Linked DNA regions of Homo sapiens: region 1 is linked to region 2. The links are contacts of gene promoters, found by promoter capture Hi-C in blood cells and fetal thymus (Javierre and others, 2016). All regions are on one chromosome and are shown on one strand. The core of a region is centred on a gene start or on the middle of the fragment in contact, and the rest is flanking DNA. Distances in the headings are between cores, read along the strand shown. Region 1 overlaps RNF111 (ring finger protein 111). Region 2 holds the start of FAM81A (family with sequence similarity 81 member A).

Region 1 (2,995 bases), core at 477-2,976, 430 kb after region 2:
TTTTATTTTTGTAACTTTAAAATGCATAAAAAGCAACAGGTTTGGTTGATGGACGGTTGGAGGAACAAATAGATGGCTAGAAATGTAAAGCAAAAAAATAGCAAATTGTTAATCATAGAATCTAGGTGGCAGGGAGATGGGCGTTCACTGTACAATTCTTTCATCTTTTCTGTTTGCAATTTTGCATAATAAAATGCTAAAGGGAAAACATTTGATGAGCAGAGTATCAAACACAAGAGTAATAATACTACTACTTACATGAAATTCTAAAACAAAGAAAACTCATCTATGATGTCAAAAATCAGATGAGTAGTTGCCTGAGGCAGGAGATGTGGGTGGCTGATGGCAAAAGAGCACAAAGGAACTTTCTAGAGTGATGGAATGTTTTATGTCCTGATTGGGGTGCTAACTGCATGGACAGACACATTTGCCAAAATTCATCCAACTATACATAAAACGTGTGCCTCATATTGTATATAAATTATACATCAAACATCAACTTGGTTGGTTTTTAAAATAAGTTCACTATATAAAATCTGGAATACACAGAAAAAGCAAAGAGAAATTAAGTCCCAATCCCATCACCCTAATAAAATCACCAACCTTTCCTTCTCTTGACAATGACCACGCCTACTGGAGATAAAAATATACTTTAGATGGTTTTCCTTAGAAGGAAATACAGAAATAGTGACTTCCTAAATTTTGGAATTCTTTGCTCAGGCAACTCAAAATGCATTGATTTAAATCTCCACATCCCCATCACTGCTGTGACTCATTAGCAAATTATTAATCATTCTGTGCCTGAATTTCCTCATCTGAAAAATGAAAATATTTACCACAAAGGGTTGTTGTAAATATTAAACAAAGTAACATATGCATATGATAGCTTTTATTGTTGTTGTTTTAAAGATGACGAGTCAGCTAGTTTTTAGAAATCGTCCAGGCAAAGACGTCCACAAGCTTCTTCCCTCTGAATTCTTCCCCCTACCCACGATCACCACATATACATATACATACATTTTTTTTTTGGTACGACTTCAATCCTCTAGCTACACCCACCTCAAACTAGTCTAACTTATTCAAGTGAACCTCAAATTCCTCTTGAAGATTAGACCAAAACACTGAGTTGTTAAAGGCCAAAGCAAAGGTTGGAGTAACAAAATAAATAAAAATAAAATCAGAAAACTAAATTAAAAAGATGACAGCTGTCCTGAGAATGCGGGATCTAATGTTGGGAGCAAAACTGCCCAAGGAAACAATTTCTCTTTGAATGAAGTCCAATAAGTTTATTTAGATAAAATTTGTTTTTACTCTACATATATGATTTAGGTCAGTCAAAATATGTAATCTGGAGAATAGTAATGAAAGCCTATGTTCTAGAGGCTGGGTGCAGTGGCTCGTGCCTGTAATCCCAGCACTTCATGCAGGGAGGACTGCTTGTGCCCAGGAGTTTGAGATCAGCCTAGGCAACATAGGTGAGACTGTCTCGACAAATAAACAAACAGTATGTACTAAAGAAAGAGAACTTGAGTTGTAAGAGGAAAACCAGGAAGACTTACTGACACTTTAATGGCTGACAGTATAGGCATACTGAAAGTTGGAATTTGGGAGAACACCTCTAGATAGACATCAAGCCCATAAAGTGAACTTGACAAGAAAAAAATAATTTAAACCATGTAGGAGATTATGCTTGCCCTTCTGCTCACTGATTATATGCCTAGAATCAACACAAAATAGGAGATTAAATTTTGCTGCTCTCCACTGGGTCTCACTTCCCAAGTGTCTCTCAGAATGTGAGCATCTTACTATGCTGTCAGATTCTAATATTTAGAGCCATTTATTTTTCCCATATTATAGGCCATATACACAAACCTACTCTTTCTCTGATATTTAACAATGAAAACATGATTTATTCCAATAGTGGAGGGAAAACGGGAAGTGCTAGACTTCCAGAGACTGCATATTTATAATGTATATTTGGGCAACTTTAGGGATTTCCAAGGTTATCTTTGACTAAATGCCATTTTTGCTTTCCTTGGATCAGTATATTCAGACAGTGAAGTGAAAATTCTTGTTACAAGAAACAAAAAACACCAAGATATTAAACAACTCTAGAATACTGGTTTGGGGAAACCAAGAATTCATTATCCTGCATACTGATGTCAGCTACTTTATTTAACAAACCTTTTATGGTTTGAATTTTTACTGTACGTCACTGATCAAGGTGATAAAAAGATAGTAAGGTGCTACCCTTTCCTAACAAATTTCATATTCTAGATAAAAATAGTAACCTTAATCCTAATGTGAATTCTTGTACACGTTAAGTCTCATCTACACACATTTACCTATATACTTTTTTGCAATCTTCAGAATTTTAGTTTCAGTAAACCTAAACAGCAAGTTCCTTCTGTTGGAGATAATAAAAAGAGACAACTAAGGATCAGTAAAGATAATTGGGAGAGAAAAGAAGGAGTATTTTAAATTGAAGCTTGTTAAAGGAAGATAACTAAAAACAAAGTTGAGACCTTAAAACTGCTAATCCAGAACTGCCATCTATGAGGGAAAAAACATGCATTCACACTGGAATAAAATAAATAAATCCAAGAGTCTGGGAAGAGGGTTTCAAAAAGATCAACTCAGCTACGGCAAGGAGGATAAACACAGGATAGGTCACTCAAACTTCTTCCATCCCAAGCATCTGGAATGAGAACAAAACCAAGAAAAGTCAATCAGGAAAGAGAAATTAATTTTACAGTAGCTTATTAATATTTTAGAAGATACAGTATCACTGACAATACATTAGCTATCACTTATTCATTTATGGTTCTCATTCAATAAATATTTATTGAAAGCCTATAATGAGCTAGGCACTTGTTTTAGGCACTGGCATCAGCCACGAACAGGACATAGAAAGTCTTTGCTCTCATGGAAATTACATGCAAATGAGACCAAAAAACCAAGATAATTTTAGAGCGAAACACGTGCTATTAAGAAA
Region 2 (3,035 bases), core at 503-3,002:
ATGCAAGAGTGTGGCTGCAGGATACAAGAAACAAGACATTTAAAGCCAGGTCGGAGTGACACAGCCTAGTGGCCTGCAGAGAGAGGAGGCTGAATAATGCGCTAATAACGTTTCCAAGCACCATGTAGTGTGGCTCATTAAATGGTTGGTAGGGCTTCATGGTTGAATTCCTGGACACTAAGTATTTTTCTATCCGTATGCTATCAGATTTCTAACATGTAACACATTAAAGGTTATTAAGCCCTCAGGTAAACAAGCTTGCAGAAGCTTATTCATTAGCATTGGAAACTGTGTCTTCCCAACCCACGTTCTTATACAGATGAAATCAGATTCGAATGAAAATCAAGGGTAGCTTTAAGTAGAAAGTCAGAAGGGGCAACCAGGGGTACCTGTGAGAGGGTACGTCCTCCATTCCCCTCCGTGGAAGAGGGAAGTTTATAGACAGTGGATATGGAAGGGGGCCTAAGTGTCCTTTTTAGTACCAGTCAACGCTAAAAATATTATAAGTGCCAAGGAACCCGCCCCCCCCAACACACACACACACACATACACACACGCGCATTCAGTGACAGGGCCCAGAAGGCAGATACAATGTGCAAATCTGGGGATGGTTCTCAATAAAGAATATATTTACTCTACAAACCTCTTATTTTAAAAGCAAGTTGCAAATGTTTGCCCTTGCTTCTGAGAGAGCTGCACTTTTGTGGATTCGAATCATTCTAGCATTATTTCTGGTTACTCCTATGAAATAATTTCCAACACTGCCGTACGCAGACTTTGAGCTGAGGACGAGAGCGCACGCGCACACACGCACACACACACACGCGCGCACACACACACATAAACCTCGTGCACATTGAAGAAATGACTCACTTAATTTGCTGCTGCCTGCCACGATTGGGTTTTGATTTTACCTGTTCAAATACAAAGTTTCCTATTAGATTAACTACAGGAAAGAAGAACTTAGGAGCATTAATCCTGATTTTGTTCATGTCTTTAGGGCACCAAAGAGGTTTTAACCTGTGCATCTTAAGAAGCCATTCTCCGGACCACCGACTGCTTGCTCCATAATCTTCCAGACAACGATAACATTTCTTACCACTTTAGGAGCCAATTAATGGAAACCCCTCCTAGAATAAACATGGTTAAGCTTTGCATCTCCGGTACCTGCAGAACCGTACTTTAGGGCTCTTTCTCAGCTCGCAGTAGGATGGCACAACAGCATTCTGGAACTGCAAAGACCCCCTAGCCTCTCGTTTGAAAGATGAGAAAAAGCGAAGGGGCGGAAGAGCAGATGGTTAACCTACCCAAGGTCACTCACTCTGAGTAGTGGGTCGGCTGACTCGCCTTTACCCCTGGCAATCCGTGCACCACCCCAGCTCCCCCAAACAGTCCCTCCGGGCGTCGGTTGGTTCGCTAGCATGCAGCCCCCGCGAAAATGCAACGCCAGTTGCGCTCTGTGCCCAACTTCAGCCCTTCGCGTCACATGCAGTTAACCCTCTCGCCCGCGGCATGTCACATGGGCCACGCGCAGCTCTCTCTACCCCACGCCTATCTCCTGAGAGGCTGCCCCAAGGTCACCGGCCGTCCCAGAGAGCTCCCGCCGCCCAGCCCCAGAGGCCGCCCGGCCGGGGTTCCCAGAGCGCGGCACTCACCGGCGCGGGGGGTGGGCGCGCCGCGGCTGCCCATGTCCTCGCCGGCGCGGCTGGGTGCGGCGGCCGCTGGCGCTGGCTGAGCAGGGCGCCCGGCTGCGGGCCCGCGCCGCGGGGAGCGCCGTCCAATCAGCGCGCGCCTGCCGCCTGGCCCGGCGCGCGGCCCGGCCGGGTTCGCGGCTCCCGGGGGGCGCGAGCCGCCGCGCGCCGCCGGAGCCGCTTCCGGGCGCGTTGCCTGGACGCGGTTGCCGTGGCAGCCCGAGCTGGAGGCTTTCCCCGCGCACCCGCGCCCAGCCTGGCGGCGCCGCCCCTCCTCCCTCCTCGTTCCCACACCCAAAATAGCCTCTGCTCGTCGCTGCTGTTTCCCACAGAGCTCGCATCCAAGCGCCTTGGAGTTGGCGGGCGGGGATTTCGCTCATTGGAAAATAAATCCTGTTGTAGGGATGGTTGATTTGGAGAGGTGTTGAAATGGTGCCTGACGGAGATCATAGCCATGGTGGTGGCACTGCAATTCTCTCTAGAGCCCCAATATACCTTATTTACTAAACCGCTTTCCCACAAAAATAGTTCTCTCCCCCGCCCCACCTCAAATTGGGGAGAAGTTATTTGATTAGGCCACGGTGACGCCCCACCTGTGCAGGTGAACGAACCCTCCGGGGCTGCCATGTGTCATTTACTGAATCGCCTTGACACCTGCAGTTGGGACCCAGGATCGTGTCTCATCGCAGCAGACACGACGAGAAGAAGAACCCCGAACACCCCTCCTCTTCCCAGCCCTTTCTTCTCCCGTCAGCTTCATCCCCTCCCAGCGCGTCCTGGCTCTTTCCACCTTCCTCTCGATTTTGGATTCTCATCAGGACGCACAAGCCCATTCACTCATAATTGTGCTTCCTCTCGGTGGGCAGGATTTCAGCGGAGTTGCGGGGGACACGACCTTTGCCTCATCTGGTTCGTGCCTCCTTCGCAGATACTGGTACTTACCCAGCACAGGGGCTCCTGTCTGTCTCCCCCACCCCGCCCCAGCCTGAGCCCTTCCAACCCAGGGGAAGGAGCCCGACATGGTAGAAGAGCCCGAACTGTGGATTCGGCTGAGCGGTTTTGGAATTCTCTCTCCGGCAGCATTATTATTTAGGGGCTATTAGTATTAAGGACTGTTATTTGTGTGTGATCTTTGAAATATTTGTGGGTATTCTGCGACTGTTTCCTCACCAGTAAAACGGGCTAATAACTTCCACAAAGCGCTAACGCATCTGTAACATTCATTCAGCCAACAGTATCTATTGGATGGCTGCCAAGTGCTAGAAACTATGCTTAGCCCTGAGACACAATGGTGAAGATGAAAAAGAGACACATCACTTTCTGATCCCACAGAGCTTAGAGCCT

The links. The method cuts DNA at HindIII sites, captures the fragments that hold promoters and counts their contacts. A CHiCAGO score of 5 or more calls a contact.
Region 1: a fragment that was not itself captured here is called in contact with the fragment with the promoter of FAM81A in region 2 in 1 of 17 cell types (total B cells); the score reaches 5.7 in total B cells.

Annotation. Positions count from the first base shown.
Region 1 is chr15:59,003,705-59,006,699 of GRCh38, reverse strand. All of the region lies in intron 1 of RNF111 (ring finger protein 111), which reads right to left. Among named protein-coding and RNA genes, the nearest start is that of RNF111, 18 kb to the right of the region's middle. The HindIII fragment of the contact is 1,528 bases long and covers 963-2,490 here.
Region 2 is chr15:59,436,903-59,439,937 of GRCh38, reverse strand. It overlaps FAM81A (family with sequence similarity 81 member A), which reads right to left and starts at 1,752. Exons shown (of 9, transcript NM_152450.3): 1 at 1,656-1,752. RefSeq lists a silencer at 1,525-2,054. The HindIII fragment of the contact is 11,804 bases long and covers 1,153-3,035 here.